7 separate regions of the Homo sapiens genome follow, and all the other regions are linked to region 1. The links are contacts of gene promoters, found by promoter capture Hi-C in blood cells and fetal thymus (Javierre and others, 2016). All regions are on one chromosome and are shown on one strand. Each heading gives the region's core, a stretch centred on a gene start or on the middle of the fragment in contact. The rest is flanking DNA. Distances are from core to core; before and after follow the strand shown. Region 1 holds the start of CKAP2L (cytoskeleton associated protein 2 like). Region 2 has its middle 11 kb from the start of IL36G. Region 3 overlaps TTL (tubulin tyrosine ligase). Region 4 has its middle 7.9 kb from the start of IL36G. Region 5 has its middle 32 kb from the start of IL36G. Region 6 overlaps CHCHD5 (coiled-coil-helix-coiled-coil-helix domain containing 5). Region 7 overlaps LOC124907869 (a long non-coding RNA gene).

Evidence for each region. Contacts are between HindIII fragments. The CHiCAGO score rates a contact against its expected background, and 5 or more counts as called.
Region 2: a fragment that was not itself captured here is called in contact with the fragment with the promoter of CKAP2L in region 1 in 1 of 17 cell types (M1 macrophages); the score reaches 5.4 in M1 macrophages.
Region 3: a fragment that was not itself captured here is called in contact with the fragment with the promoter of CKAP2L in region 1 in 1 of 17 cell types (fetal thymus); the score reaches 5.1 in fetal thymus.
Region 4: a fragment that was not itself captured here is called in contact with the fragment with the promoter of CKAP2L in region 1 in 1 of 17 cell types (M2 macrophages); the score reaches 5.6 in M2 macrophages.
Region 5: a contact is called between a fragment that was not itself captured here and the fragment with the promoter of CKAP2L in region 1, in 6 of 17 cell types (megakaryocytes, endothelial precursors, M0 macrophages and 3 more). The highest score is 12.0, in megakaryocytes.
Region 6: a contact is called between a fragment that was not itself captured here and the fragment with the promoter of CKAP2L in region 1, in 1 of 17 cell types (neutrophils). The highest score is 5.0, in neutrophils.
Region 7: a fragment that was not itself captured here is called in contact with the fragment with the promoter of CKAP2L in region 1 in 2 of 17 cell types (monocytes and M1 macrophages); the score reaches 5.7 in monocytes.

What each region holds. Positions count from the first base shown.
Region 1 is chr2:112,763,050-112,765,996 of GRCh38, forward strand. CKAP2L (cytoskeleton associated protein 2 like) reads right to left here and starts at 1,560. Exons shown (of 9, transcript NM_152515.5): 1 at 1,513-1,560. The coding sequence starts at 1,549. RefSeq lists an enhancer at 1,190-1,329 and a silencer at 1,780-1,939. The HindIII fragment of the contact is 4,243 bases long and covers 847-2,947 here.
Region 2 is chr2:112,987,606-112,990,552 of GRCh38, forward strand. No RefSeq gene overlaps it. Among named protein-coding and RNA genes, the nearest start is that of IL36G, 11 kb to the left of the region's middle. The HindIII fragment of the contact is 888 bases long and covers 1,069-1,956 here.
Region 3 is chr2:112,533,161-112,536,107 of GRCh38, forward strand. TTL (tubulin tyrosine ligase) reads left to right here. Exons shown (of 7, transcript NM_153712.5): 7 at 1-2,947. Among named protein-coding and RNA genes, the nearest start is that of POLR1B, 7.8 kb to the right of the region's middle. The HindIII fragment of the contact is 264 bases long and covers 1,355-1,618 here.
Region 4 is chr2:112,968,627-112,971,573 of GRCh38, forward strand. No RefSeq gene overlaps it. Among named protein-coding and RNA genes, the nearest start is that of IL36G, 7.9 kb to the right of the region's middle. The HindIII fragment of the contact is 1,152 bases long and covers 888-2,039 here.
Region 5 is chr2:112,944,916-112,947,862 of GRCh38, forward strand. No RefSeq gene overlaps it. Among named protein-coding and RNA genes, the nearest start is that of IL36G, 32 kb to the right of the region's middle. The HindIII fragment of the contact is 1,642 bases long and covers 588-2,229 here.
Region 6 is chr2:112,588,370-112,591,316 of GRCh38, forward strand. It overlaps CHCHD5 (coiled-coil-helix-coiled-coil-helix domain containing 5), which reads left to right. Exons shown (of 4, transcript NM_032309.4): 4 at 497-671. The coding sequence ends at 520. Among named protein-coding and RNA genes, the nearest start is that of CHCHD5, 5.2 kb to the left of the region's middle. The HindIII fragment of the contact is 3,880 bases long and covers 1-2,947 here.
Region 7 is chr2:112,607,123-112,610,069 of GRCh38, forward strand. The region is part of intron 1 of LOC124907869 (a long non-coding RNA gene); the gene reads left to right. Among named protein-coding and RNA genes, the nearest start is that of CHCHD5, 24 kb to the left of the region's middle. The HindIII fragment of the contact is 4,928 bases long and covers 1-2,947 here.

The DNA of each region.
Region 1 (2,947 bases), core at 310-2,809:
TGCTAGGATTACAGGCGTAAGTCAAAGCACTCGGCCTAAATTTACATTATTGCTTTCAATCCACAAAACAATCCAATGAGTTTTTGCAATCTGAAATTCAGAGAGAGTAAATGTCATGCCCAAAGTTACCCAGCTAATATGTGGCAATTCCAGGACTTGAAAACAGGCTTTTCTAACCCTGGAGCTCACAGCCACTGTTCTCAGCTACAACAGTCTGTTTTGAAGAATTTCTGTTACTGGCCCACCTGAGCTGGTGAGCCAGGCCTGGTCTTACGTCTTTTGTTTTTTTACAGGGATGATGATTTTTACCCACAAACCCTTATATGGCTTCCTTTGTTGGTACTAAGGATAAAATACGCCCGGTCTGCTCACGGCAGACACCTATACTATGGTGACTTTCTACGCAAGCCATTTGTGAGGGGATGACAAGTCAATAATTTCTGCCTTCAAGAACTTTCAAACTAGTAGTGGAGATAAAATCAACACAGCAACAATTACAGTATAAGGTAAAATCTAAGGGCCATAAGAGACGAAAAGAAGTATGGGAGTTCAGAGGTAGGGCATAAATGAGGGGAGTAGGTGGCTAGAAAAGGTTAAAAGTAAATAATGATGTGAAGGAAGACAAAAAGACGACAGGGGTGCCAAACGACTCTTAACCTCATCTGAACGGAGTTGCCCTGTTTTGCTCTCTGATGCTCATGTATCTATCCTTAGAGACAGCTTGGCGGGCAATGTAGAGCGTAGGGGCTGACATAGGGGGTTGGAGTCCCACCTCCGTGACTTCTAGCAAATTAGCAAACTTTGCTGCTGCTAAGCCTATAAGGCGGACAGAAATGCCATCTTTAAAGCTTGTTATGTAAAGTGCCTAGGACCTCGTAGGCATCAACAGGAATAATGGATGAAACAAAACAACGGTGCGTATCTTGGAGAAAGTGGCATCTGAGCAGGAGTATTTTGAAAGGTAGGAAAGGGCTCCAAGCACATCTAAGAGATTAGGGAACGCAGAAGCCTTAGCCCTGGGTGCAGATTTAACCAATCAACTTCTAACCACCGCAGGCTGAGAGGTGTGGAGTGAGAGCCCCGCCAGAGGCAGGAGACCCGGGCTTCGGCCAGACCCCGCCTCCTGGCACAGAGGACCACGCCCGGCTCTGCCTGGAGCCAAATGTGGATCAAAACAGCGCGCAGCTTCCCACTGCTGGTGAAAACCCGAGCAAGGGGCCTCAGTTTCTTTATCCGGAACGTGGTGACAATGACATCTCTTTGCAAGGCTGCTGCAGGGCTTTCTGGAAATACGCCCGTGAGGTATCTGGGCCTGCGCACAGCCTCCCCCGCCCAGGACCCAGACGTCTACCTGGGGGTCCCGTCTGCGCTCCCGGGATGGAAAACGCCCAGGGGAAACTTAGGCAGGCGAGCGGACGGGCACCTCCCGCGGGACGAACTCACTCGGTGGCCTCCTACTTCCCCGGCCGTGTTCCAACGCCTGAGAATAACGGGAACAGCGGTCGTACTCACCGACAGCGGCAGCAGCGGTAGGCCCGGGCCCCACCATGACTCTTCAGTGACAGTTTTTCTTCAAACGCCGCGCCTGTAGCCAGGACCGGCGTGCCGCGCGTCCACGCGTCCTCATTGGCTCCTGCGGGTTTGAAACTCGCTAGTCGTCAGCACGGGAGGGCGGGACAACAGGCAATAGGCTCTTTGCGGTTGGCTCTGGCCTTGAGAACCCGACCTTGGGGCCCTTTGATTGGAAGAACGTGCAGCGCACCTCGGCATTGAGGGCGGCTTCCTCGGGGCGCGGCGCCGCCCGCCTCTGAGTGCGCCTGTGAGTGCGCCTCCGAGTGGGCGTGGGACCCTCCGTGGGGGCCTCAGCCGGGCTGGTGGTTGGGGGGCGGTTACGCTGAATCCAGCTGGGGTTGGCGCGCCGGGAGTCCCTGGGCGGAGAGACAGGGCGGTCCTCCCAGGATGCTGGGGCCGCTACCTGATTCTGTCCTTTCAAAGTCTCAGACTCACAGGAGCTGTGAAAAAATAATATTATAAAGAGGACATATGGGTCTTATGCATCTAAAGGCTCCTAGTTCTTAGTACTGCAGGGTGGCTCGTTTAATTGTGGTAAAATATGCATAACATCACATATACCATTTTAACCATTTTAAAGTGTTAAATTTTTCAAAAATGTGCAGTTTAGTGGTATTAAGTACCCTCACATTGTGGCACAGCCACCACTACTGTCCTTTCCAGAACTTTTTCATCTTCCCAAATGAAACCCTGTACCCGTCACTAACTCCGCACTCCTCCCTCCCCCAGCCCCAGGCAATCACCATTCTAGTTTCTGTCTCTATGGATTTGACAACTGTAGGTGCCATATAAGTAGAATCATGCAGTATTTGTTCTGTGACTGGCTTGTTTCACTTAGCATAAAGTATTCAAGGTTCATCCATGTGTAGCATGTGTCAGAATTTCCTTTCCTTTTAAGGGGGAATAGCATTTCGTTGTGTGGAGATGCCACATTTTGCTTCTTGGTCCATCCCTCTCCGGACACTTGAGTTGCTTCCACTTTTTGGCTATTGTGAATAATAATATGAACATGAATGCACAAATAACTCTTTGAGACTCTCCTTTTCATTCTTTTGGGTATATACCACGAAGTGGTATTGTTGGATCAAACGGCAATTCTATTTTTAATTTTTTGAGAAACTGCCTTACTCCTCTCACGGTGATCTCTTGTTCAAGGTATATTTTCGATTTCACCTGATCAGCTGACTATAAGGCCATAAGGCTAACGGAGAAACGCAGGCCTAGTTTCTCCTAGTTACTAGGAGATCGCAGGCCTCGTTGTCCTGAATCCCTAGACACACTTCATTCCCCTTGTTTTAATCCTAAATTTTTTTTCTTTTGAAGTTTGTCCTGTTTCATCTATTCTCCAGTTTCTTAAAGAGGTCTGGAAAATGCT
Region 2 (2,947 bases), core at 263-2,762, 220 kb after region 1:
CTCTGATTAGGAATATTGAGCATTTTTTCATATATCTATTGGTCTTTCTTTTTGTGAAATGTCTATTCAGGTATTTTGCCTGTTTTTCAAACAGGTTATTTATTTATTATTATTATTATTTGCAACTGAGTTGTTTAAGTTCGCTATGTATTTTTGATATTTACCCCTTGTCAGATGTATAGTTTGAAAATATTTTCTCCCATTCTGTAAGTTGTCTCTTCACTCTGTTGATTGTTTCCTTTTCTATACAGAAGCTCTCTTGTTTGATATAGTCACACATTTGTTTATTTCTGATTTTGTTTTTTGCCTTTGATTTTGAGGTCTTATCCAAAAAATCCTTGCTCAGACAATGTTTCTCCTATGTTTTCTTCTAGTAGTTTCATAGTTTCAAGTCTTACGTTTAAGTATTTAATCCATCTTAATTTTTGTATATGGTGAGAGATGAGTCAATTTTATTTTTCTGCGTGTGGATATCCAATTTTTCTAACATCATTTATTTATTATTTTTTATAATAATAATGACAATTATAGCATTTACTACAATGACTTTTAATACTCTAAGGTGCATGTGTGTGTCTCTGTTTTAATATTTTACAAATTGTCACAAAGGCACTCAACCCCATAGAAGACGTAGTATTTTTTAGTGTAAAGCAATTTTTGTAGTCTTGACAAAAATCATTTAAAATTCTGTCACAAAGCAAATTAATTTCCTATTTCATGAATTAAAAATGAAAAGAGACTACAAAAAGCTTTATTTGTTTTAAATCATGTTTCCCTTCTTTTTTGGGGACAAAACAATGTCTACTTTAATTAGGTAAATCTTCCTCAGACTTTGATGTTGTATCATAGCATATATCATAATCTTACCCACTATGTTTAGAGATTGTTTTTTAAATTAAGTGTGTAATAATGCCCACACCTTTATTAACTCTGTTTAGCTGCATTAGTTATGATGATGCTAAAATCTCTCATATTTCATTTTTTCTTGATGTCATTTCATCAAACCATTAAGACTCATGGTTAAAATATAATAAATATATAATAGAGGCATATGTTTATTTAACACAAAGCTTGTTGTTAGTATCATGTTCACAGTGGTGGGAGCCATGACTAATTCATCAGTGTTCCCAGTGCCTTGGCAGTAGGTCTTCACCATTAAATCTCATGTTGTAGAATTACTTTATCACTTGATTTAAAAAGAATCATTTGCTTAATAATTTGCTTAGAGTAATGTTTGCTATTAGTGTATAAAAATGCTACTGTTTTTTCAGCAAAGACTTGGGACTAACTTAAATGTCCATCAGTGTTAGACTGGATAAAGAAAATGTGGCACATATACACCATGGAATACTATGCAGCCATAAAAAGAATGAGTTCCTGTCCTTTGCAGGGACATGGGTGAAGCTGGAAACCATTATTCTCAGCAAACTAACACAGGAACAGAAAAGCAAACACCACATGTTCTCACTCTTAAGTGGGAGTTGAACAATGAGAACACATAGACACAGGGAGGGGAACATCAGGCACTGGGGCCTGTCAGGGGATGGGGGGTAAAGGGAGGGAGAGCATTAGGACAAATACATAATGTGGGGCTTAAAACCTAGATGATGGATTGATAGGTGTGGCAAACCACCATGGCACATGTGTGTAACAAATCTGCATGTGTATCCCAGAACTTAAAGTTAAAAAAAATGCTACTGTTTTTTGAACGTTGATTTTGTAACCTGCAACTTTATTGAATTAGTTTATTAGATCTAACAGTTTTTTTTCGATGTTTAAGATTTTTAGTGTATAAGAGCATGTCAAAAGCAAACATGGACAATTAACTTTCTCCTTTCCAATTTGGACGCCCTTTATTTCTTTCTTTTGTCTGGCTCTGGCTAGGACTTCCAGTACTATGTTGAATAGAAGTGGTGAAAGTGGGCATTCTTTTTTTCTTCCAAATCTTAGAATAAAAGCTTCAAACTTTTCCCCATTCAGTATGATGTTAGCCATGGGTTTGTTGTATATGGCCTTTCTTATGTTCAGATACATTCCTTCTATACCTAATCCATTGAGAGTTTTTATCATGAAGAGATGTTGAATTTTGTCAAATGTTTTTTTCTGCGTCTTTTGAAATGATTATATATTTTTTCTTTCATTTTGTTAACGTGGTATATTATATTTATTGATTTGTGTGTATTGAACCATCCTTGCATACCTGGGATGATTGGCTATGGTGAATAATCCTTTTAATGTGCTATTTGAGTTTGGTTTGCTAGTAGTTTATTATGGAATTTTGCATCTATGTTCATTAGCGATGTTGGTCTGTAGTTTTCCTTTTTGGTGGTGTTCTGGTCTGATTTTGACATCAGGATGATGCTGGCCTTATGGAATGAGTTTGAAAGAATTCCACTCTCTTCAACTTTGTGAAATAGTGTGAAAAGGCTTGGTGTTAGTTCTTCACTAAATGCTTGATAGAATTAAGGAATGAAGCCATCAGGCCCTGGGGTTTTCTTTGATGGAAGAGTTTTAAACTGCTAATTAAATCTCCTTCCCTATTGATCTGTTCAGTCTTTTTATTTCTTCATATTTCAATAGTGGTAGGTTTTATGTGTCCAGGAATTTATCTATTTCTTCAAGGTTTTCCAATTTGTTGGCATATAATTGTTCATAATAGTCTCTATGATTCTTTGTATTTCAGTGGTATCAGCTTTAACATCTCCCTTTTCATTTCTGATTTTATTTATTTGAATATTCTTTTTTTCTTAGTCTAGCTTACAGTTTGCTTATTTTATTTATCTTTTTAAAAATCAGCTCTTCATTTTGTTGATCTTTTTTAGTCTCTATTGATTTATGCTCTGATTTTTATTATTTTTTCTTCTACTAATTTTAGGTTTAGTTTTTTCTTGTTTTTCTAGTTCCTTGAGATGCAACATTACATTGTTTATTTATAAGAGTATATAGT
Region 3 (2,947 bases), core at 237-2,736, 230 kb before region 1:
TCTGGCACAGAGGAGGTTTCCATGCCAGAAGCCCTGTGTAGGCACTCCACTCCAAACAGGTTTCACATACACTATGACACATTCCCAGTGGACTCAGCAGAGATTGCATGGGCAGGGTGCAGGGTGCAGGGTGCAAGCAGACATGGATCCAGGCAGGCACCTACTTAGGACCCTGAGAGTGGACAGGCCCAAAGCCTTTGGAAGACTTCTCTTAAAGACTGGTCCCACTTCCTGTCAGTAGCTACACCTCCTTCTTAACCTGAAGTTCTCCCATAACCCATATTTTAGAAGTGTTTTCCCCAAAGCATCCCTCCATATCTTAGTCTATTTTGTATTGCCATAACAGAATGTTACAGAGAAGTGTATGTGGCTCACGGTTCTGGAGGATGAGAAGTCCAATATCAAGGGGCTATATCTGGTGAGGGCCTTCTTGCTGCCTCAGCATGGCAGAAGGCATCACATGGCAAGAGAGGAATGGAGTCTAACTCACCCTTTAACTAGCAACCCATTCCTGTGATAACTAACCCACTCCTGGCATAACATCATTAATTTATTCATGAGGGTAGAGCTCTCGTGACCTAACCTCTTACAGGTCCCACCTCTCAACACTATTGCAGTAGAGATTAAGTTTCCAACACATTTACTTTGGGGAACACATTCAAACCATAGCAGTCCCTGAAGGCAAAGGAAAATGAACCCCTCTCCAATGCAATACATAGTAGCAGAACTTGAAGATTGTTGCAAGCATAATTCCTTTCAAAAATTATGAGAGGACATCAGTGGGCATAATAGAGTAACAACCTCTGAAAACCCTCTCTTCCATAAAAGCAATGAGAACACTAGCAAAACTGTCTAGACATTAACCAGAGGCTTGCAGCAATCCATTTATTCAAGAAAAGGCCTGTAATCCCAGCACTTCGGGAGGCCAAGGCGGGCGATCACGAGGTCAGGAGATGGAGACCATCCTGGCTAACACAGTGAAACCCCATCTCTACTAAAAATACAAAAAATTAGCCGGGCGCGGTGGCAGGTGCCTGTAGTCCCAGCTACTTGGGAGGCTGAGGCAGGAGAATGGCGTGAACCTAGGAGGCAGAGCTTGCAGTGAGCCGAGATCACGCCACTGCACTCCATCCAGCCTGGGTGACAGTGCGAGACTCTGTCTCAAAAAAAAAAAAAAAAAAAAAAGGAAAGGGTTGCATCTGGGTAAGAAAAGCAAGCTTTCTGACATTTTAATGTACCCTATTCCCACTCCCCCTTTCCCCAGCTCCACAACAGCCTCGGCCACACAATCATGCTGACATCCAGCAGCAGAGCAGCCACCGTAGGGCTCAGAAGGGGATTGGAACTCCTCCAAAGCTTCATTACCAGAGAATTGCCATTTGGCCTTTTTGGTAGTTCCATGTAAGTCCCTACTCCTAGGTCTTGTCTTTATTTGATGTGACTAAGAGGTTACCCAGTGTGAACAACCTTTTCCCTGGGTGCATTTGTCAAAAAAAATCAACAGCAATTGTTGAACATCTCAGCTTCCTAAGGTGGCTGTAACAGTTGGAACAAACAAACTGACCAAAAGACTTAGAAGGAAAAACTGGGAATGAGATTTCTATAGGACGTTTTGAAAAGCTTCAACCTATTCCTAAGAATGCAGAAGGCCACACACATGTGTAGGACTGTGCACATGCCCAGAAGAGACCTGAGAATTCCCCAGCTCTTTCGTCTGACCTTAAGTGTCTGCACAAACAGAGAGGACAGAGGCAGAAGGAGGGAAAGAGGGAGGGAGGAAAGGTAGGAAGGGGAGAAAGAGAGAGGAAGAAAGAGAAAGGAAAGAAAGGCAGGCAGAAAGAAGGAGAAAGGGAGGGAGGGAGGGAAAGGAGGGAGGGAAGAAAAGAGAAAGATTGAGAAAGAAAAAAGAGAAAGAAGAAAGAAAAGAAAAAAGGAAAGAAAGTTAGTTTATAAAATAGAACCAAGTAGAAATTTTAGAGTTGCAAAGTACAAAAATGCAAATGAAAGATTTACTTGAGAAGTTTAAAAAATGTGTGAACTGGTAAAAGAAGTAATCAGCAAATTAGAAGTCATTTGAGATTATCCAGTCTGTGGAACAGAAAAAAAAAATCAGCAAAGAAAAATGATCAGTGCTTCAGACACCCGTCAGACACCATCAAACATACCAACATACACATAATAGGAGTCCTAGAATAGATAAGTGAGAGAGAGGGAAGGGGATAAAACATATACTGGAAGAAATAGTGGCCAAAACCTTTCCCACTTTGAGGAAAAACATTAAAGTGAATCCAAGAAGCTCAACAAATTCTAAGCAGGAAAGACTCAAAGAGTCCACCTCAAGACACACCAGCCACTAAGTAAATAATTTTAAATATATAGTAAAAAATGACAAGGAAACAGAAATGTTACACTAGAAAATATATAAGAAAAGAGAAGGAAGTAATGAAAAATAGAGGAGAAAAAAAAGGCAAGAGGCCTAAAGAAACCAACAGTAAAATGGTAGATAAATCCTGCCTTATCAGTAATTTCATTAAATGCAAATGAATTAAATACTCCAATCAGAAGGTAGAGATTGGCAAATTGATTTTTTTTAAAAATCATGATCCAACTATATGCTATCTACAAAAAACACACTTCATTTTATTTTTATTTTTATTATTTAGAGACAGAGTCTTGCTCTGTTGCCTAGGTTGGAGTCTAGTGGTGTAATGATAGCTCACTGCAGCCTCAAACTTCTGGTTTCAAGTAATCTTCCCACCTTAGCCACCCAAGTAGCTGGAACTATAGGTGCCTGCCACCATACTTGGCTAATTTAAAACAATTTTTTTAGAGATAGGACCTGGCTTACTTCAAAACTTACCTGGCTAATTTCACTTCACATAACGATCTTCAGTTCCATCCATGTTGTTGGAAGTGACAGGATCTCACTCTTTATGGCTGAACAGTA
Region 4 (2,947 bases), core at 214-2,713, 210 kb after region 1:
GTGTGAACAAAGTTTCTTATTGATGGTGGCATCTGAAGAATTTGAAGAGATAGATCATGGTTTAAAAGGCTTGATTAGACATTTTAAGTGTCAAATCTGTTTTAAAATAAATATCTCACAGAAGCAAGCTCAAGTTTCTCACTAAAAATTTAGAAAAATATTTGGAATATTTATATAAATTCAATATTTAGTGCTTTCCATAATACTTTGTATTTTAATTTTAAAAAATTATACATTTTTCCACAAAACTTATATAACCATTCTTGAATCCCCTCGAGTTTTCCCCAATGTTGAAACAATGCAAAAAGTTGGGGAACATTGGCCTTTGAGTCTAGAACCCAGCCCTCTGGGTCTTGAGAGCAGAGGTGAAGACCTCTTTTTGTGAATTTGTGAGTAACCTTGGATGGTTACATTGAGTAGGAGAAAAAACAGAGGCAATGATGTTAACCACTGTGGACTCCAGACCCTTCCTCAGTTTTCCAGTGGTAGAGAGAACCTCAGTGATGACTGAAATTTACCTTCTCTTTTATAGGTTGGTCACTGTGGGGGACTGAGTGAGCAGACTTAATTTGATTTAGGTAAATGAATGTGACATTTCTTACAGCTGAATGTAAAATGTAGTAACACTACATTATCATGGTGGCAGGAAATAAAGTGCAGGTGGATTGTAGGGCAACAGGAAGTCAAGTGCTCTGGTGACAATGGTGATTTTACAGATGATGGAGCCAGCTGGCTTCTTTGGACAGGTTTGGAGACCATGCAGGAGAGAAAGACAAATTAAAAACTGTGAATATCTCCTTGAGAACAAAGTGGACAATCAGCAAAACTTCATGGCGGAAGGCATCCCTCATTTCTTGCAGTTCCAGGGAAGAAATAAATGAAAACGAAGCTTAGTGCTTCCTGCTAAGGGCTACAGTTGTACAGGACCGATTAATCACTTAACCTGCCAGGTTTGTTATGCCGAAGTCAGGGCACTGATGGGGAAGGAGTTGACTCTGAGACACCATATGGGGACGTTTGATCAGGCATATATGAGTTGAGAACTTTGAACCTTCGTATGTCCTTGAGGCTCCATTGACAACTGAGGTAGACAATCACTCTCCTTTCCCACTGCATGTGAAGCATTTGAGTGTCTGCACCTGAGCCAAGTTGCCTCACAGGCTAATAAGAGGTCTCCTCATGACCCCCATGGAGCACTGACAGGGAATTTACAAGGCTACTGTGAAAGGAAATGGCCTAAACTCCAAAAAGTTAAAGAAACTCGTCAACCGGATATTGTTCATGGAAATATATTCTAAATGTGTTCAACCAAGATTGGGCTGAATTTGTCAATAAGGGTGGGCCCATCTGGGATTTGGGATGCAATGAATTGATTTGAGTACCTGGAGGTAATGTTAGTTTATTGTCTGCTAGGTTGACTAATGGATGCTTAGATATGGTGGTGGTTTACAGTCAGTAAGGCTGAAATACTATAATTTCTTCGACATAATGTAATGATCCTTAAAATTGGAGCTTTAAAAAACATTGATGCTTGAGTGACTCCCTGGAGATTCTTATTTAAGTGGTTTGTGTTGCCATGTGGACAGAGGGATTTAAAGAATGTCCTTAGGTGATTTTCACATGTTGCTAAGGTTGAGTGATTTCTGTAAAGGAAAATCAGGGATGAAGATGCTGGAGTACATCTATTATGTGCAATCCACATAGCTGTCCATTAATCACACACCTCAGGATGACCAAGGGACTAAGAAGAAATGTATTGGCGAGGGGCACACCGGCATCCAGGAGAGCTCACTGGTAGCTTCCCTCTCTAGGCTGGAGGTGATGGTGTGGGTGCTGCAGCAGGTTTTCAGCTTTGATAGGAATTAACAGGATTGCAGAGTGGAGGAGGCCAGATGGTGGCACCTCTCATCATAAACAAGGTGAGTGAAATGATCACAGTTAACCACAGGGGCAGGATACCAAATAGAGTATTTGAACTTCAGGACCCCGTGGCAATGACAAATTCATCTCAGGGTCTGTAGAAATGAAATACATGGAAAAGCTTCTAAGGTGCTGCTTAACACATATGGGAGGAAGATTTTTAGGTCTGGTGTACAGAAAAGAACTCAAATTACTGTGGTGGAAATGTATAGCTTTTTACCCAATTTCCAGGTCTAAGGAAGATCGAAGCCCTGGATTCCTAAGATGAAGGCCAGGTCCATTTGAGGAGGAACTTTGCATAGTGGCATGTTATGGTCTGAATTTTGTCCCCCCTCTTAATTCATACGTTGACGCCCTAAACCCTACTGTGATTACTTGGAAATAGGGTGTTTCAAGGGGTAATTAAGGTAAAATGAGGCTATAAAGTGGGTCCCTAATCCAATGTGACTTTGCAATGTGAGGAAGAGACACCAGGGATGCACACAGGGTCATGTGAGAACAGAGAGAAGGCGGCCACCTGTGAGCCAAGGAGAGAGCCCTTAGGAGACACCAAAACTATTGACACCTTGATCTTGGACTTCCAGCCTCCAGAATGGTGAGAAATGAAGTTCTGTTCTTTCAGCCACCCAGCCTGTGATATTTTGTTATGGCAGCCTGAGCAGACTAATACATGGTGACTGGTATATAGTAAGAATCTTTCTCCAAGACTTTGCCAGACATACTTATGGCCATTTATCAGGGCTATGCAGTGGGAGAGCGAAATAGTATCTGGGGGTTTCAGATACTGCCTCTGTATTGATGGAAATCTCCAGGGGCAAAAAAATGCCACAATGGTCCATCAATCACAGCAGAGGATTATAAAGCAGAGGAGACAGATGAACTCTGGGACTGATTTTGTCTAAAGAGGCAGCCTGAGATTATTTCTTTGGGCTCAAAATGTACAGTGCAACAAGATAAATTTAGTGACTGGCAGGATGTCCACATTGGGTTCCTTCTTATAAAGTGAAAGTTGTTATGGAGAGAGGGT
Region 5 (2,947 bases), core at 159-2,658, 180 kb after region 1:
CTTTTTCTATTTTGAATTAATTTTAGATTTTGTGTAATACAAGGGTCTAATTTCTTTCTTTTGCATGTGGATATCTAGTTTTCCCAACACCACTTATTGAAGAGACTTTCCCCATTGTGTATTCTTGGTACTCTTGTCAAAGATTAGTTGACTATACATGCACGGGTTTATTTCTGGGCTCTCTATTCTGTCACATTGACCAATGTGTCTATTTTTTTCCCAATGCCATACTGTTTTGATTACCACAGCTTTGTAATATAGCTTGAAATCAGGGCATGTACTAGGTCTTTGAAATCTGCTGTGTGTTTTATTCTCAGAGCACATCTCAGTTTGGACCAGTCTCATTTAAAGTGCTTGATACTCACCTGTGGCTAATGGCTGCAATGTTGGGAAGCACAGTGTTAGACTTTTGCAGAGACTGCAGACAGACAATTTTCTGTTTTTTTTTTTCCACCTTAGTTAGAGAGACAAATGAAAATATAAACTCACACAGTCCTTGCATTACCACTACAGTCCTAAAACTGGCCCAGGGCAGACACTTGGATGTTGTCATTTCTTTCCTCAGCTCTGCGAACCCAGCAAAGAAAAGCTTTCAGTCTTCAATTGTCCCCATTCCTCACCTAGTGGCTTGTATTTTCACAGCCAGAGTGGAGGGGCTGGGGGAGACAGATAAGACAGCAGCTTGGCCAGCTCTTGGAAGATGGAATATGCCAGTGGAAAATGGTCAGACTGTTTATATAAAATAACTCTGATCCACAATCTGCAGAAATCAGCTCAGGAAACCCACTTATTATCCACAATAGCCAACCCAGGAAGCCTATTACCAGAAAGTCAGACTTGCAGGAAGTGAAGACCACTATTTCTAGCAAACAATCCAGGGAGCCAGTCACTCCTGTAACAGTCAGTCAAAAATGGCCAACACTTGATTAATAACTGACAACTGCCCTAAATTTTTTGTTCCCTCTTCCAATGTAGGACCAACCAGAGAAAGCCAAACATGCTCCTAATCAATCACACAGGAGTCCCCATTTCTAGTTAGCCACCTGCAACTCACCCACATCTACAGCTGCCACTCAGGGCATACATGAAGACTTCCCTTCTTTCTGCTATGAGGCTTTCTCCCCTGCTTACTTCTGAGTCTCTGCCAAGCAAGTGATGGTTGCCGACTCCCTTGTCAGAGCAAGCTCTGGATAAATAGTCTTTGTTTGTTCTCATTTGGGTGGTCTTTGTTTATTTCCACACCCAGCAGAGGTTAGAGTTGAAACCTTTACCCAACTTTAGGCATCCATCCATCTCTACAACACAGGCCTCACCCCTCCCCCAGCCAACAGCCTGATGTTTTTCAGCAGGTGGGTTCCCCTTCCCTTGTCAACCCCACCTGTCGTCTCAGCCTCCCAGAAGACTCACAGTCAACTTGAGACCATTTGTTTTTGGACTTCACTTTCCCTAGTCATATTCATCTCCTGGGTTGGAGCCATAATTACCCTAAACACGGGCTAAGCTGGAGCTGCTCCATGCCTCAGACTGCCATTTCATTGCATGGCATGGCCTTCATCAAATGATTCCATCTGACATTTTAAAGAGAAAATTGAAGCCAGCAGGTGAGCACAGCCTCACATTTACCACCAAACCTTCTTCCTGAACCATCTTGGCATCTGTCCCTCCTCCCTCCCTCTTGCTACACTGGGGGAGGTCCTTCTTCTGTTCACAGACGGCTTCTGCTCTGGATTCTGAGTCCCAATCCTCTCAGCCTTCCCAGGACCTTTACACCATGTTCTTCTCTTCTGAATATTGGGTGCTCCTGTCTGAACTGGATCCTTCCTGTAGAAATTTAAAGCTCAATGCTTCTCATAGTTAAAAACAACACAACAACAGTATCTCTTTACCTATGTTCTTACCTGAGCTGTAGTCCTGGCTCCCCACCCCTTTCAACCCAGGTGTGAAGAGTGGTTTCTGCTGTCTTAGTTCCTTGTTGCTGCTCACTACTGGCCTGCCCTGTGCCCTCCTTTTCACTTGCTCAGCCTTGGTGAGGGGAACCAGCTGAGGGAGAAGAAAAGGAAAAATCTGATAGGTAGACAGTTAAGGCTAGTCTTCAGAGAAGCAGCCTGCCTGAAAAATCATAGCTACAGGCAAAAATAGAGCAGCCTGGGGAAAACTCAGGCTGCACCTGAATAGATAAGCGGCACAGAAGCCTCTTGTTCTTTGTACGATCAGTGAGCTCCCAGAGAAAGCTTCCTCCACTTCTCAGATATGCACATGGTGGGCTCCATGGGAGCTTACACAGGGAGGGGATGGGGGCTTGCCTAAAACAAACCCACAGTTATACAAACAAGAGAAGCTACACTTTATGCTTACCTGGAGACATCCCACAGCTGCATAGATAAGGGAGAGTTATACAGACAGTTTTATAGGTAAGAGAAGTTACTCAAACAGCTGCAGATATGAGAAGAGTTTCTTATAAAAGCTTTTGGATTCAGCTGTCAAAGTGGCAACCCACTCAGACTCCCCTCTCCACTGCAGAGAGCCTTCTTCTTTCACTTATTAAATTTTTGCTTCAACCTAACCCTTTGTGTCCATGCTCCTTAGTTTTCTTGGTCGTGAGACAATGCATGCAGATAACATCTGAGACAATAAGACCTTTGACCCTGACCTGTTTTACAGCCACTCTCTTTAGATACACACAGTGGATGTTTTCACATGGACATTCTCACATGACTCGACCTCCTGGCAGCATTTATAACAGATCTCCCTCTCTCCCACTGAGCCCTGCCCTGGGCAGGGTGAGGGCCACTCTCCCAGAATCCTTCCACCTTCTTTGGTAGCTCCTCCATTTTCCTTGTCAGCCCATGGGCTGAGCCACTAAAGGGTGCAGCTTGTCCAGCTCAGTCCTAGGCATCTCTCCACTTTGCCTTTTGTTCCTAAGTAATTACATTCATGCCCTTTCTTA
Region 6 (2,947 bases), core at 307-2,806, 170 kb before region 1:
TTTTCCTTCCTAGCTAGGGGCAGTGAGATTTGTTGTCTGGTCTACACAATAGCGAACACAAACATTCTCATCTCCTGCAGCATGGCATACAGACTTTACAGAATGTCCTGTGTTTTTGTGGCTGACAATCAAAGTGGTACATGTCCCTCCCATTCCGCACACACCTCTGCTCTTTACCCTGATTAAATTTTCTTCATCGAATTTCTTGGATGTTGACATATTTATTGTCCGTCTCTCCCTGCTTGAGTCAGAGAGTTTTGCCTGCTGGGTACACGGCAGGTGCTCAGTAAATATAGCAGAATGGCGCGTTCCCTGCCTCCCATGACACTTCACCACAGCTGACTTTTTCACATGGCTCAGGGCCAAGGTCATTGCCCAACACCCTTCTCCCTCCAGACTGTGGGCTCTGCAGGGTCTCCCTCTGTGGTGTCTACATAGGCTCCCCAGGCTGGGCACAGAGGAGGTGCTACTAGATGTTGATGTACTTTCTCCACAGGCACAGCCACTTCCTGCCTCCTGAGGACTCCTCTGACGGCAGGAAAACTGGACATGAATGACTGCCCCCACGCCCCTCCCCTGCAGAGTGGCCAGATGGAGTCCTGAGCCCTGGACATGGGCCCGGCTTTCCTGGATATCAGGACTTCCAATAAATAAAGACTCTGTATACTGGGCTTTGATTCCTGCCATCCGTACCTGAGAGGGTCCTAGGAGAGCTGGCTGGGCAGAGTCATCTGTTCCCCAGCTTCACCGGGTGTGCCAAGGAAGTGCCTGGGAAGAACAGGACTCTGCAGCTGTGCCCCAGGGTTGAGACTACCCTGCCTCCCTTGTGAACTCTGCCACACAGCCATTTCCTGACTTCTGCTGCATGTGCCTGGGGTAAAGACCCTCAATCCCTTCCACTCTAGCATTCCCCAAATTGTTATTTTTTTTTAATATATATATTTTTTATTTTATTTTTATTTTTATTTTTTTTTGAGACAGAGTCTCGCTGTCGCCCAGGTTGGAGTGCAGTGGCACGATCTCGGCTCACTGTAGGCTCCGCCCCCCGGGGTTCGTGCCATTCTCCTGCCTCAGCCTCCCTAGTAGCTGGGACTACAGGCGCCCGCCACCTCGCCTGGCTAATTTTTTTTTTTTTTTTTTTTAGTAGAGACAGGGTTTCACCGTGTTAGCCAGGATGGTCTCGATCTCCTGACCTCGTGATCTGCCCACCTCGGCCTCCCAAATTGCTGGGATTACAGGCGTGAGCCACCACGCGCAGCCTATATATATATTTTAAAGACAACGTCTTGCTCTGTTGCCCAGGCTGGAGTACAGTGGTGCGATAATAGCTTACTGCAGCCTCGAACTCCTGGGCTCCAGTGATCCTCTGCCTCAGCCTCCACAGTAGCTAGCACTACCGTAAGCACTTGACACAGTGCCTGGCTGCATTCTCCAAATCTGTTTTCAGTTTTCTGGAGGCTTGGGGGGTGATAAATAATATGCGTCTTTCCCTGCTGAATTCAGAATCAACTGGGCAACAGAGGCATTAGGCAATGGAGATGAAAATACTGGCTTTATTATTGAAAACAACCACATGGAAGGATGTATGGCTTAGAAGGCCATGTACTGGATTTCTTTTCTTTCTTTCTTCTTTTTTTTTTTTTTTTTTCAAGACGGAGTTTCACTCTTGTTGCCCAGGCTGGAGTGCAATGGCGTGATCTCGGCTCACTGCAACCTCTGCCTCCTGAGTTCAAGCAATTCTCCTGCCTCAGCCTCCTGAGTAGCTGGGATTACAGATATCCGCCACCATGCCTGGCTAATTTTTGTATTTCTAGTAGAGATGGGGTTTCACCATGTTGGTCAGGCTGGTCTCAAACTCCTGACCTCAGGTGATCTGCCCGCCTCAGCCTCCCGAAGTGCTGGGATTACAGGCACCGGCCGCCATGCCCGGCTAATTTTTGTATTTCTAGTAGAGACGGGGTTTCACCATGTTGGTCAGGCTGGTCTGTAACTCCTGACCTCAGGTGATCTGCCCACCTCAGCCTCCCAAAGTGCTGGGATTATAGGTGTGAGCCACCGCTTCTGGTCTATGCACTGGATTTCTGTTCTTAGTTTCCAGTTTTCCAGAAGCCAACTCAGAATTTGAGTGCAGATGGTAATTTGAATTTGATTCCAGAAACACTGATAGAGGAATGGAGAAGGGAGACAATAGAGAGGAAGGCAGCCAATAAAAGGTGCATTATCAAGCGAGTTACCACTCTGGGCAACTGGGACTCAGTCCCACTGGGGACCTGTGGGGGACTTTATAGAACATAACCCAGTTACCCTATCAAGGAGCAAGGGAATTGTGTTATCTACCAACTTCCCATCTGTCATTAAGGGGTATTTTCATGGGCATTGACTGGTACTTCTGGCCTGCCCTTTATAGGCCAAGTTCACTTCTGCCATCAGAAGAGGGCCGTAAGCAGAGTATAATGGGATCAAGTGAGCAGCCTTAAACCTGCGGAAGAGATGCTGAGTGGATCTGGGCAGGTACCAACAGTGGCTGCTGTGGCTTCTTCATGCTTCTCAGGAATACAGGCTCCTGCTGTTTGATACAGGCTCCCCAGTAGGGACTGGTCCTAAAGAATAGAAAGCAGACAGGCGTGTATGCAATAGAGGAGGAGACCCCAGAGTGCTGAGCTGAGCATGCCCATGGCCTGCACCCACATTCACCATTCAGACGAGGCCCTCCTCCCTGGAGGTGATCCCAAACCTCTGGAAATTGGAGTAACTGGCCATTTGATACCCAAGGATTATGCTCGGCTTGGAAGAATGAGCCTGGCCTATGGGAGTCTCTCCTAGGGATTAATCTCCAAGACAAAGGAAGTTGTTCATTGGTTTAGGAGCCGGGTAGAAATCCTGTAAGTTCAGGGTTGCAAGATTTTATACCATTTGTCTGAGCTAGGAGGAAACCCAGGTAGTGGAG
Region 7 (2,947 bases), core at 236-2,735, 160 kb before region 1:
AGCTACAGTCAAGCCTGCCTTCCTTCCTCCCCTCCCTCCCTCCTTTCTTTCCCTCCCCTCGCCTCCCCTCCCCTTCTCTCCCCTCCCCTCCCTTCCCTTCCCTTCCTTTCCCTTCCCTTCCCTTCCCTTTCCTCCTTCTCCCTCCCCTCCCCTCCCCTTGCCTCCCCTTCCCTGGCCTCCCCTTCCCTTCTTCTCCCTCCCCTCCCCTCGCCTCGCCTCCCCTCACCTAACCTCTCCTCCCCTTGCCTCCCCTCCCCTCCCTTTGCCTTCTCTTGCCTTCCCTTCCCTTCCTCTTTCTTTTGACAGAGTCTTGCTCTGTTGCCCAGGCTGGAGTGCGGTGGTGTGATCTCATCTCACTGCCTCGGCCTCCTGAGTAGCTGTGATTACAGGCATGCGCCACCATGCCCAGCTTCTTTTTTTTTTTTTTTTTTTTTTTTTGTATTTTTAGTAAAGACGGAGTTTTCCCCATGTTGGCCAGGCTAGTCTCAAACTCCTGACCCCTAGTGATCTGCCTACCTTAGCCTCCCAAAGTGCTGGGATTACAGGCATGAGCCACCGTGCCTGGCCCAGCCAAGTGTTTTCTAGTCTGCAGCTATACTCAGAGGAGGGCAAGGCATGGAGTCTCATGCTTACCAGAACCAGGGAAGCAGGTGATAAACTGGCTCGGGAGAGTTCTGAAGAAGACTGCCCATCTTGAAACCGCCTTTGCCAAAATTATGGGGAATTATGACAGTGAAATAGATCAGACCTAACTGACTCCATCTTGCTTCTAACCTCTAAACTGTCCTTATCCATTCCTGGGCATAGGCCGAACTAGCCTTGGGAAGGAATTTAGTTTATAGTTTAAATAACAGCCCTTCCCAAAAGCAAATCTGTTCTTGTAAAACGAATGAAAGGCCACCAGCCACCAAGTTAGGATGAGAGGGGCTGGAACTCTAAATATTACCAGCTGTTACGTGGAAGGTCATGAGATTTGCAACTTCCCTGATTACTCTTGAAGATAACATCACCATTGTGAACCTGAGATTGGCCTTTTGAGATGTCTTTTCAGGTTTTTCCATTTCTGACAAGTGGTTGGCCTCACCTGGACCTGCCAACCAGTTCTGTGGCACTCACCCAGGAACTGACTCAGCATAAGAGGATAGCTTCGACTGCCTATGAGTTCATCCTCAAGCCAACCAATCGGTGCTCCTGGCTCACTGGACCCCTACCCACCAAATTATTCTTAAAAACCCTGATCCCTGAGTTTTCTTTTCTTTTCTTTTTTTTTTTTTTAATTATACTTTAAGTTCTGGCAAACATGTGTACATCGTGCAGTTTTGTTACATAGGTATACACGTGCCCTGGTGGTTTGCTGCACCCATCAACCCGTCACCTACATTAGGTATTTCTCCTAATGTTATCCCTCCTCTAGCCCCCGACCCCCTGACAGGCCCCGGTGTGTGATGTTCCCCTCCCTGTGTCCATATATTCTCATTGTTCAACTTCCACTTATGAGTGAGAACATGTGGTGTTTGGTTTTCTGACCTTGTGATAGTTTGCTGAGAATGATGGTTTCCAGCTTGATCCATGTCCCTGCAAAGGACATGAACTCATCCTTTTTTATGGCTGCATAGTATTCCATGGTGTATATGTGCCACATTTTCTTAATCCAGTCTATCATTGATGGACATTTGGGTTGGTTCCAAGTCTTTGCTATTGTGAATAGTGCCACAATAAACATACGTGTGCATGTGTCTTTATCATAGAATGATTTATAATCCTTTGGGTATAAGCCCAGTAATGGGATTGCTGGGTCAAATGATATTTCCAGTTCTAGATCTTTGAGGAATCGCCACACTGTCTTCCACAATGGTTGAACTAATTTACACTCCCACCAACAGTGTAAAAGCATTATTTTTCCACAACCTCTCCAGCATCTGTTGTTTCCTGACTTTTTATTTATTTATTTATTTTTTTATTGAGACAGAGTCTCGCCATCTTTCCCAGGCTGGAGTGCAGTGGCACGATCTCAACTCTTTGCAAGCTCTGCCTCCTGGGTTCACGCCATTCTCCTGCCTCAGCCTCCCGAGTAGCTGGGACTACAGGCACCTGCCACCACGCCTGGCTAATTTTTTTGTATTTTTAGTAGAGACAGGGTTTCACTGTGTTAGCCAGGATGGTCTGGATCTCCTGACCTCGTGATCCACCCACCTCGGCCTCCCAAAGTGCTGGGATTACAGGCTTGAGCCACCGTGCCCGGCCTGTTTCCTGACTTTTTAATGATCGCCATTCTAACTGGCATGAGATGGTATCTCATTGTGGTTTTGATTTGCATTTCTCTAATGACCAGTGACGATGAGCATTTTTTCATGTCTGTTGGCTGCATAAATGTCTTCTTTTTAGAAGTGTCTGTTCATACCCTTTGCCCATTTTTTGATGGGGTTGTTTGCTTTTTTCTTGTAAATTTGTTTAAGTTTTTTGTAGATTCTGGATATTAGCCCTTTGTCAGATAGATAGATTGCAAAATTTTTCTCCCATTCTGTAGGTTGCCTGTTCACTCTGATGGTAGTTTCTTTTGCTGTGCAGAAGCTCTTTGGTTTAATTAGATCACATTTGTCAATTTTGCCTTTTGTTGCCATTGCTTTTGGTGTTTTAGGCATGAAGTCTTTGCCCATGCCTATGTCCTGAATGGTATTGCTCAGGTTTTCTTCTAGGATTTTTATGGTCCTAGGTCTTACATTTAAGTCTTTGATCCATCTTGAATTGATTTTTGTAAAAGGTGTAAGGAAGAGGTCCAGTTTCAGTTTTCTGCATATGGCTAGCCAGTTCTCCCAACACCATTTATTAAATAGGGAATCTTTTTCCTATTGCTTGTGTGTGTCAGGTTTGTCAAAGATCAGATGGTTGTAGCTGTGTGGTGTTATTTCTGAGGCCTCTGTTCTGTTCCATTGGTCTATATCTCTGT